Linked DNA regions of Homo sapiens: all the other regions are linked to region 1. Evidence: promoter capture Hi-C in human tissues and cell types (Jung and others, 2019). All regions are on one chromosome and are shown on one strand. The core of a region is centred on a gene start or on the middle of the fragment in contact, and the rest is flanking DNA. Distances in the headings are between cores, read along the strand shown.

The links. The method cuts DNA at HindIII sites, captures the fragments that hold promoters and counts their contacts. A contact is called where the count stands out against the background at its distance.
Region 2: the fragment with the promoter of UAP1 here is called in contact with the fragment with the promoter of HSD17B7 in region 1 in 1 of the 25 tissues and cell types used here (hippocampus).
Region 3: a fragment that was not itself captured here is called in contact with the fragment with the promoter of HSD17B7 in region 1 in 2 of the 25 tissues and cell types used here (aorta and hippocampus).
Region 4: a fragment that was not itself captured here is called in contact with the fragment with the promoter of HSD17B7 in region 1 in 1 of the 25 tissues and cell types used here (mesenchymal stem cells).

Annotation. Positions count from the first base shown.
Region 1 is chr1:162,789,262-162,792,040 of GRCh38, reverse strand. It overlaps HSD17B7 (hydroxysteroid 17-beta dehydrogenase 7), which reads right to left and starts at 1,339. Exons shown (of 9, transcript NM_016371.4): 1 at 1,206-1,339. The coding sequence starts at 1,240. RefSeq lists a silencer at 1,352-1,411. The HindIII fragment of the contact is 13,139 bases long and covers 1-2,779 here.
Region 2 is chr1:162,560,372-162,563,150 of GRCh38, reverse strand. It overlaps UAP1 (UDP-N-acetylglucosamine pyrophosphorylase 1), which reads right to left and starts at 1,429. Exons shown (of 11, transcript NM_001324116.5): 1 at 1,374-1,429. UAP1-DT (UAP1 divergent transcript) reads left to right here and starts at 1,798. Exons shown (of 3, transcript XR_426859.4): 1 at 1,798-1,913; 2 at 2,499-2,676. RefSeq lists a silencer at 941-1,840. The HindIII fragment of the contact is 20,893 bases long and covers 1-2,779 here.
Region 3 is chr1:162,593,143-162,595,921 of GRCh38, reverse strand. All of the region lies in intron 9 of UAP1 (UDP-N-acetylglucosamine pyrophosphorylase 1), which reads right to left. Among named protein-coding and RNA genes, the nearest start is that of UAP1, 33 kb to the right of the region's middle. The HindIII fragment of the contact is 3,411 bases long and covers 1-2,779 here.
Region 4 is chr1:162,638,306-162,641,084 of GRCh38, reverse strand. All of the region lies in intron 1 of DDR2 (discoidin domain receptor tyrosine kinase 2), which reads right to left. Among named protein-coding and RNA genes, the nearest start is that of DDR2, 7.2 kb to the right of the region's middle. The HindIII fragment of the contact is 5,394 bases long and covers 1-2,779 here.

The DNA.
Region 1 (2,779 bases), core at 90-2,589:
AAATATTAGATGAGTACACCACTTGGAAACAAAGAACTTCAAAACCAGCATTGTAAAACCGCATAGGAGTGGTGACAGCAGTCAGACCAGCCTGGCTGATAGCAATGAAAAGCTGGGTAATAAGTTCTCTTTCAAGACTTAAGCTGATTCCAGGCAAATATGTTAATAGTTAAAACCCAAAAAGAGCCTGGAACCATCAGTAATCTATTAGCACCAACAACAAAGCATCAAAAATATTTATTTGTCCTCACATGAGAACAGTAGGCATTTAATATACAATTGCACATGTCACAATATATGTAAAAGAAACAGACAAAATCAATTCTGACTTACTCAGTACCTTCCACATAAGAAGCACCAATCAACGGTTAAAGTCACTTGAGAGGGTATGCTAAAAAGTTGCCAAATGCAGACACCTACCAAGCTGGCTTAGTTAATACGCATGTGGTTAAATAATTGAAAGTGGATCAATCTTAAATGTTTAACATGTCCTCTGTCTTAATCATTTAAAAATGCCAAATGCAACTAGTAGAAAAATGGTTTGATTGGCTTCATCCTCCACACATTTTTCACAGAAGTGCAAATGACAGGTAAAACAAGCAACAGAAGAGGCTGAGAGACTAAACGAGCAACCCTGGAATTATTATGAGCTGGTTATTCTGCACCCCAACCATGCCTTCATAGGAAAAGATTAATTTTCTCTGGGTTTCTGAAGAGTATGTTAGCTCTCTAGCACTGAGCTAAATGAAACGGGATTGTTTTCTCTCCACCGTCCTAATGTTCATGGGTGTTCAAATTTGTAGGCAAAAGGCTTGTACAGACAAAACACCTGGAGTATAAGACATGATCACGTGGTCAGGAGCAAAATATTGGGCACTGACGATAAATACGAACAGTAGGCAAAGATGGAAAAGGGGCGGAGCCCGCCTGAGTACCCCATTGCCTTGATAACCTCAGGATCATCACTGCGACACTCATCACTTACTGATGCTCTAGTTTTCCTTTTCACTGTCATGTTTAATACAAAGCACCAGTTACTGAGCACCTCAAGAGGCCGACATGCCCCACACCTGCTGCAGACTCCGGGGAACCTAGGCAAAGCCAGGGGCGGGCGCTTCCGGGGTCCGTTCGTGGAGGGTCGCAGACCCCTGCTCTCTCGGACCCCTGATCCGCTGCCGCCTCTGCCAACCCAAAGGAGGCCTCACCTGCTAGCCCCGGTGATCAAAACCACCTTTCGCATCTTCGCGCACTCACACTTCCAAGCAGTGAAGCAAACACCGCCGCTGCTTTCGGAAGTCCTACGATTTCGGGCCGCCTCACCCGTCACCAATCAGAGTACGGCCACGCCCCGCCTCCCGTTGCGTCATCGAGTCTGAGCTGATCCCTCCAATCTCAGTCCGCCAACCGTTCCCTGCCCTCGGAGACGGCGTCGGGTGAGATAGGCCGAGGGGCGGAGCTGCGTGACGCAAAGCCCGGAGCCATTCCAGGCTCTTCTCGCTCCGCCTAGGCGCAGGTGTCTGTCACTGCTTCCTAGGGCTCAGCGGGCGCCTGATCTTTAATCCTGGTGGGGGCGTCACCCGGCCTAGCACTCAGGACAGGATCTGTGACACGCACTGGGTCTGTGCCCTGGCGCCTGAGATTGGCACTTCTTTGCAGGAAGGCCTCACGGTATTTGCACCAGTGCCCATTTTAGAGAAAAGGTTTGGGTCTAGGAGCCAAAGTTGGGCGATTATCATCTAATTTTCCACTCCTTTTTGGATGTACAGATCCAGGCATTGTGCCACTTCACAGCCCAACTTTTGATCCCAGACCTCCTCCTCTAAAGAAGCTTATTTGAGAAAATGAGCACTGATTTTATTAAGAACTTTATGTAGAATCAGACGTAAATTACCAGTATTCAAAACTTGGAATGTGGCGTGGAATCAGAATCTCAGAACTTCATTCTCCGAAGTACTGAGAATGTGCTGTAACCTTCTGTATCAGTGCATCTCAAACTGTGCTAAAGGACCTGTTTTTGTCTCCAAGCCATCCCAGATGGGTGCTTTTAGAAAATACAAAAAAATAAAGTGCTAGAAAAAGAAAAGCAAAAGGCATACAAAACACAAGCCCCGATATTTTATTATTAGATCCAAGACATATAAAAGTACTCTGCCAAAATGAGGCAGAATAGGGTTTGGAGGCAGGGTACTTAAGGCCACTTCGTGCTGACTTCCTAAAGCTCAATCAAGGAAAAACAGCAAGGGCTGGAAGTAGGGAATCTGAGACCAATTGGTGCTGGCTTCCCAAAGCTGGATCAAAAGGAAAACACCTGGGTCTGGGGGCCGAGAGCCTAGGGTCAATTAACACCAACTTCCTAAAGCTAAACCAGAAGGAAAAACCCCATCTCCCCACTCCCCAGTAGCAAAGGATCAAAGGCTACTCTCCCTACAACCTTCTGTTCTCAGACCAAACTGAGGGTTGGGCTGCTATTTTTCAAGGCCCAATAACGAGATGCAGATGAGCTGGGGAGGAAGAGAGTTTTTATTTCTGTAACCGGTTGCAGGGAGAAGGCCTGGAAATTATCACCAGACCAACTCAAAATTACAGTTTTTCAGAGCTTATATGCCTTCTAAGCGAACTGTCTATGTGTAAGTGTGCATTTATCTAAAGACATAAGTGATTAACTTCTTTTAATCTGTAACTAAGGTCTGAGTCCTGAAAACCTTCCTCTGGAGCCTCAGTAAATTTACTTAACCTAAATGGGTCCAGGTGCTGGGGTGATTGCCCTTGTATTCTCTCC
Region 2 (2,779 bases), core at 180-2,679, 230 kb after region 1:
ACGTGTAATGGTAAGCAGCAATTAACAGAAGAGTTAAAAGATATGGATTTTTATTTTGACAACCGAAATCTGAAAAAGTTGAAAATCTGCTCGAGAAATTATGACAAAACTTGGTACATGCCCACAGCCTAATCCATCTGCATCAAAATATATGAAAAATTTGGTAATAATCTACCATTATCAAATATATTTTTATTAGAATTTAAATACCAGTATTAAAGAAATCCAGTATTTCTCCCTCCTTTTCTGGCTTCCCCCACCCAGCCCCTATCTCTGCTGGTATACGTATGCCCTCGAAATGAATAAGTAAACCTCTTAAAGCTTTTGAAAAACAGTATCAGAGTTGAGACATAACCACCAACTGAATCCTATAAATGCTTGGCAGCACAGCCTATGAAGTCTTTCTTTGCTCCAGCTAAGTGAGCCAACTGACTAACCGTGAAGGAATAGACAACTGCCTTGAGTTTCCGGCGAACTCTTGGATCCACACCCAGTGAATTTCACCTAAAAGTCCTTAAACTTTTGCAATACCAAATGACACACACATATGATCATAATCCTATTACCTGATTTCAGATTTCATAAACCATGTAGAAGTAAGTGTAGCACAGCGACAGGCCAAAGTTCAAGCAGCCATATGTTCAGCATACGTGTGCTCAGCCCTCCAATACCATCCTTCTGCTTGGCCAAGAGAGGGGAAACCCAGAAATTTCAATTCTCTCTCACTACCAGTATCATGGCAAACCAAACCAAAAAAAAGAAAGAAAAAAGTGGCAAGCAAACAGGTTTTGTCCCACTGTCCTGTCCTCCAAATGTATCCCCTGTCTTTGTCAGACCTCTCAAATCTTTTCCTCATATATTCAAGACACACCAACTCGCTTCCACCTGACAGTGCCAACGATCTCCTGTCCCACTACAGGCCCCCACACTTGGTATAACTGTCCACAAGGCCCTAGCCTGAGAGCCTCGAGGTCTCTACTGCCCACCCGGGAGAGGCCCCACTCCCAACCCCACACGCCTACACGACCCCCTCGGACTCAGACACTGGCCCAGACCTCCTCCCACAACGCCCCCAGTCCATCTGGGGCGCGCTCATTCCATCCCTGGCCCCGCCATCCACCCGGCTGCCCAGCCCACACACCCTCTCGCGGGGTGGCGGAGGATGGGGTGCGACTGCGGGGCGCACGGGCTGGGGTGTGTGTCTGCGGGCGAGCGGGAGGCTCCTCGGCGTGTGCTCGGCTGCCCGCGCTGTGCACGTTCGTGCGACGCGTGTCCACGTCTGAGCGCGTGGCCGTGTGTGCGGTGGGGCCAGGCCCTCCGCCCGCCCGGGTCCCGAGCCCCGCCGTCTCCTCGCTGGGCTGGGAGCCCCTCACCTTTCTCGGCGCGACCGCAGCTACGACCGTCTCCAGCTCCTTCCGCGCGGCCACTCATCGGCGTCCCGCGCTCGCTCCGAATATATACCCTCATCCGGGGGGCCGCGGCGGCGGGGCGGGCCGGGAGCGGGGGCCAAGTGGAGCGCCAGCCCCGGCCACCCCGCCCCTCTCGCCACGACTAGTGGCTGCCGACGCCTGAAGGAGTGGAAGCCGACCGCCCAGACACGTCAGCGCCGGGAGCACAGACGACGACGCGGACGCGGAGGCGGCCGCGGCCCGGGGCGCCGGGGCGGGGCTAGGGATGGGGGCCGGGCATGAAAGGAGTAACCCACCGGGCCGGGGCGGGGCCTAGTGCGTCACTCATTCTCTGGCCCAATGGGAATAGTTCTGGAGCGCAGTCGGCTGGCGTCCCGGTCCCTCCTGCGCACTAACTGAGGGTGAAGGATGTCGGTTGGGTCTGCTAGGAGGGGCCAGGAGCCGGCCGGCAGAGAGCGGCTCGTGGGTCCCAGGACCCCTGACGTCCCTAGGTTGTACTGGGAGGTGCGAGCCCGAGGCTCTTAGTCGGCCCAGCGGCACGGGGCACAAGCGGGCCACAGAGATGGGCAGGGAGCTGTGTCCCCAGGGTGGCGGATTTCCGAGCCACCCACGCGGGTGGTTGGGAAAGGGCGGTGGATTTTCCTGCGGAGAAACTTTCAGGGCGGGCCTGGCGCGCTCTCTGACCTTGGGCTAGTTATTTTGTGTGCAGTTCACAAGATGCCTGGCCGGGCTCCAAACTCGCTCTCTGTTTGGTTGTGTTTTGGCTCCCAAGAAGGCGAAGCCAGGCCTTTTTTCTTTTGCACAAACAGACAGGAAAGGAGAGAGGAAATGCAAGCAAAGGTAGTAGGTAACCTAAGGTAGTATAAGCCCGGGGTCATCTTTGTGAGTTTGCAGACTTAACGTCGCTAGGCCTCAGTACTCTGCAGAAAGATGGTGGAGGACCTAGATGACCTCCCAGGCCATTCCAGGACCAGTGTTTACAGTCCTGTTACATAACCTAGTGTGGGTGTGCACACACAGGTTATTATATGTTCAGCACTGTGCCCTTGGAAGCTATGTTTACATTTAAAGTTGTGTTGCATTTTGCAGCTTTTGCAAGAAGTGGAATATGTTGAAATACGAAAATACCTAGATTTAACATACCACCTATCATAAAGAGATTCAGGCGCCTTTCTTCTACTTTCTTGGGTGCAAAGGCCTTTTCATTCCCTTTACCAATTGCATAATCACCCACTGCCTCAAGTAACAACAGAAAAACTTAAACTTGGTAAGTAATGCTGGTAGATTTACATTCAGGAGATTGAATACTCTCCATCTCTCATGATCCTAGAACTTCCTTCGTTTCTTTGAAAGAAGAATAGTGTAGTGAT
Region 3 (2,779 bases), core at 151-2,650, 200 kb after region 1:
TGAGATCGCTCCACTGCACTCCAGCCTGGGCAACAGAGCAAGACACTGTCTCAAAAATAATAATAACAATAATAAATAAAAAATAAATGTATTAGACACCTGCTAAGTCACTGCCTCCCAGAGTAATTATTGCTATAGCACACATTTAGCACATAATCACATACTGCCTGAAAATGTTACTTAACTTTTATGTATGTGCATCTTGAACATCCCAGTAGTCTGTAAGAAGTGACTTATTTCTCTTGTATAAGATACTTCAGCACCTAGGATACTAATAGCACCTATAAACCTATGAGCAGGCCTACGAATGCTTGTTGTCTGAACAAATAACACTATGAAAATGATGACAAACTAATGAAGGGAAAAGAGGAGGCATAGTGGGGCACACACCTCTCTACATACATGCCAGATTCTACCACAAGAGCTCAAGAGGTCTAGTCCAGACCTTCTGGGGCAACTCAAAGTCATACAAAACCAAATGAATCTTGAGTAGGCATGCCGAGGAAAAAAAAAGGAAAAAATGAGGGCCCACCCCATTAAGATGTATATAGCCCAGTCCCACCTAAACCCCTGAAGGATTCAGTGTAGCAGGAACAGAAGGTGGTTGTGAACCCAAGAAACACATATACAGCTGGCCTGAATATGTAACTTCCATTCTACTACCACAAAGATACCCCAAGAAACTAAGGAGTGAACTTCAGTAAACAAAATTGGATGCCCTGAAGGAGGGAAAACAGAAGCTACCATCACCAAATGTAAAATCTCAGGATATAAGCAAATTAGCCCAATAAACCTACTGCCCCACAATTCTTTAGCCATGCATCCTTTTGGTAGCTAACACTATTCAGTAAGCATTAAGGTGAGAAATAAAAATAATATCGAGTCAAAACTCAGCATGGTTGTTTCCATTCTTTCAGAATACCTCCTAGTTGCTTCTTCCCTCTTTTACATAATATACTTCCTTTTCATCTCTCACAATTACATGATGTTCTTCAGCTGTGTAAGGTCATCCTTTGGTGCTAAGGATTACGCAGGAACTCTTTTTCAGTGCATGGTATCATTTAAAGCCAAACTTTGATTTCACTTTAATTATTCTATAAATGGCTAAAATGAAGTAAACTGGGCGATGGGGGATATTAAACAAAAGAGTAAGAATAATGTTTAAAGCTTTTTGTATCTTAACTAAGATAGCTAGATGCTGTCTTCAGTTATATAATTAACAATCTATTACACTGTTAGGTTAAAAGCTATGGTTCAATGACAAAGAAATTTAATCAAAGTTTTATTTCTTAAATATAAAAGCAGCTTGCTTCCATATATTAAAAATGGTGGATGAGACAGAAAGTGATAAAGGGCTCTGCATCCCAGTTCCCAAGGCAGGAGAGACAACAGTCATCTATGGCAGCGGTCCCCAACCCCTGGGCCATGGACCGGTACTACTCTGTGGCCTGTTAGGACCTGGATCACACACCAGGAGATGAGCAGTGGGCAAGTGAGTAAAGCTTCATCTGTATTTACAGATGCTCCCCACCACTCACATTACTGCCTGAGCTCCACCTCCTGTCAGATCAGTGGCCGCAACAGATTCTCTTAAGAATGTGAACACTATCGTGAACTGCCCATGTAAGGGATCTAGGTTGTGTGCTCCTTATGAGAGTCTAATGCCTGATGATGTCTCCCATCATCCCCAAATGGGACCACCTAGGTGCAGGAAAACAAGCTCAGGGCTCCCACTGATTCTATACATTACAGTGAGTTGTATAATTATTTCATTACAATGTAATAATAATAGAAATAAAGTGTACTATAAATGTAACATGCTTGAATCATCCTGAAACCACCCTCACCACCCCAAGTCTGTGGAAAAATTGTCTTCCACAAAGCCAGTCCCTGGTGCCAAAATAGGTTGGAGACCGCTGATCTACAGCACCTATAAGAAATTGATCAGATCTTTGAGTCCACTTCCTTGTTTACAGAATCACATCCCAGAAACACTGACACTCACAGGAATTTGTCTGGGCAGAGGAATGGCACAGACAGGAAAAAGCACGTGGGTGACACTGATGAAGGTGCTACTCTATTTCTGAGATAACTTCCATCTCCAGATCTTTTGCCCTGCATATATTTCCCAAATTACCTTAAAAACTTTTTCTTTCTTTCTTTTTTTTTTTTTTGAGATGGAGTCTTGCTCTGTCACCAAGGCTGGAGTGCAATGGTGCGATCTCAGCTCACTGCAACCTCTGCCTCCCAGGCTCAAGTGATTCTCCCACCTGAGCCTCCTGAGTAGCTGGGACTACAAGCGTGCATGACCACACCAGCTAATTTTTGTATTTTTAGTAGAGATGAGGTTTCGCCATGTTTGCCAGGCTAGTCTCGAACTCCTGACCTCAGGTAATCTGCCTGCCTTGGCCTCCCAAAGTGCTGGGATTACAGGTGTGAGCCACCGCACCCAACCTTAAAAACTTTAACTTTCAAAGTGTAACAATAACATCAAGCTGTCTCTTAAACTATAAAGATAATGGCTTTTCCAAACTCTGTCAGTACCCAGATGGGAGAGGATATGTGTTACTTCTAACTAAAAATGATCTGCCATTAAGATAAAAAGATTCTTTAGAAGCAAGAAAGTAACTGACTAAAATTAATGCAGTGACCAAAAAGGAGAGCTGTTAGTGTGAGAATAAATCAACAGAACAGTTTTCTCCATATTAAGGGCCATCAAATATGACAGGAACAATCAGCCTGTATACTGAGAGCATACACCCAATTCCACAAGACACAT
Region 4 (2,779 bases), core at 174-2,673, 150 kb after region 1:
ACCAAGTTGTAGTTAAAACAGCTCAATGAGGGTGGGTCCAGTGGCTCATGTTTGTAATACTAGCATTTTGAGAAGCCAAGGTGGGAGGATTGCTTGAGCCCAGGAGTTTGAGACCTGCCTGAAGAACATAGTGAAACCTCATCTCTACAAAAAACAACAGTTAGCCAGGTGTGGTAGTACGCACATATAGTCCCAGCTAGTCGAGGGGCTGAGGTGGAAGGATCACAAACGAACAAAAATGACTATTCTTTAAGTGATAGTTATTATAATTTGAAGAGTATGACACAAAAATACCTACTTATCTGCTATTAACCTATTGAATTAGTCTTTTTCAAGATTTTGAAACATTTCTGCCTCAGGTAGCTTTAATAAATAAAATAATATCATTTAAGTTTAGGGTACTTATCTGAAAAACAAAATTAAGCATTTTAAAATACAGATGCTCATGATTATAACTATATTACAATGACTGCCTTCAAATAAGAAAGAAGTAGCCAAGATGGAATCAAAGTATTAGAATTTGGAGATTGGGCAGATTTTTTAAATTAAACTTTAATTCTTTTTAAAGCAGTTGTAGGTTCACAGCAAAATTAAGCAGAAAGTACAGATTGTTCCCATATACACCCTTGTCCTCTGCTACAAAACCTCCCTCACTATTGACATCCCTCACGACATTGGCACATTTATTACAATCAATAAGCCTATCAATAAACCTAATGGTCTGTGATATCAACACATCATTTTCAGCTGGGCGCGGTGGCTCACACTTGCAATCCCAGCACGTTGGGAGGCTGAGGGGGGCAGATCATGAGGTCAGGAGTTCGAAACCAGCCTGGCCAACATGGTGAAACCCTGTCTGTACTAAAAATACAAAAATTAGTTGGGCGTGATAGCACACGCCTGTAATCCCAGCTACTCAGGAGGCTGAGGCAGGAAAATCGCTTGAACCCAGGAGGCAGAGGTTGCAGTGAGCCGAGATCACACCACTGCACTCCAGCCTGGGCGACAGAGCAAGACTTCATCTCAAAAAAAAAAAAAAATCATTTCACCCAAAGTACATTGTTTGTCTTAGGGTTCACTCTCAGTGTTGTACATTCTATGGGTTTTGACAAAGGTATAATGACATACATCCACCATTGTAGTAACCACAGAACAGTTTCACTACCCTAAAAATCCTCTGTGTTCAATTTATCCCTCCCTCACCCCTAATTCCTGGCAACTACGAATAGTTTTTACTGTTTCCATAGTTTTGTCCAATGAAATTCAGAATTCGAAGTACTATTTCTACTGAATGAGTATCACTTTTGCACTGTCGTAAAGTTGAAAAATCGTAAGTTGAACCGTTTTAAGTCAGCACCATCTGTATTTTTCTCAACCTGTGGTTTGTATTCTCATTCTCTTGACATTGTCTTTCACAGAGTGGAAGTTTACAATTTTAATGAAGTCCAGCTAATCAGGGATTTCTTTCACAGATAGTGCCTTTGGTGCTGTAACTAAAAAGTCATCACAATATCCAAGATTACTGAGATTTTTTCCTATGTTATTTTCTATGAGTTTCATTGTTTTGCATTTACATTTTGGTCTATGATCCACTTTGAGTTGCTTTTGTGAAGGATGTAAGGTTTATACCTAAGATTCATTATTTTTGCATGTGGATGTCCAATTGTTCCAGCACCATTTGTTGAAAATACTACCTTTTCTCCATCAGATTGCCTTTGCTCCTTTGTCAAAGAACAGTTGGCTACATTATATGGGTCTATCTGGGCTCTCTATTCTGTTTTCTTGATCTATTTGTTTATTTTTTCACCAGTACCACAATGTATTGATTACCAGAGCTTTACAGTAAGCCTTGAAGTCAGGTACTGTCAGTCCTTTGACTTTGTTCTCATTCAATATTGCAGTAGCTAATCTGGTCTTTTAACTGTCTATATAAACTTTAGAATCAGCTGGTTGAGGCCAGTCATGGTGGTGCATGTCTGTAATCCCAGCTACTCAGGAGGCTGAGACAGGAGAATCACTTGGACCTGGGAGGTGGAGGTTGCACTGAGCCGAGATTGCGCCACTGCACTCCAGTCTGGGCAACAGAGCAAGACTCCGTCTCAAAGATAGAAAAAGAAAAAAGAAAAAAAAAAAGAATCAGTTCGTTGATATCCACAAAACAACTTGCTAGAATTTTGGTTGGGATTAGGACTTATTTTTAATTTCCATTGATACTATTTTAGCGTTATTATGTCCATTTTAAACTGTCTGTTATGTACACATTCTAAAATTACAACTGCATCTGTCTGAGGAACAGATTGCTATTCTTGAGTGAATTTAGCTCCCACTACTCTCTTATTGAGGTCAATTTGCTCCCCTGCATCTCAAGAGGGTTCATCCTGAAGGACAAGTGCCAGTAGCTTTTGAAAACTTCACCAATCCTCTAACTTTTACATGCCTCTGAGAAGTTACAGTACTGCAAGGCATTTTGGTATGGCTCCCACAAGGACTTCCAAAGTGCGATTTTCTTTTACAAAGCCCAAGTAGTCACTCATTTTACTTCCAGCAAGAAATGGAAGTGGCATATATTGGTGTGACTGTACTTTAAAATTGCCAAAAACACACATAGACACACTTGCACGCACTTCTCCAACCTTACCATGGGGATATGGGAGTTTGTTCTTTAATGCTTGGATTTAGACATAGAACGATAGCCATAATTATGATGATAATAATGAAGACCATGGCAACAAAGACAATGGTGATGATAAGAAGTACAGTCCCAGGCCGGGCGCAGTGG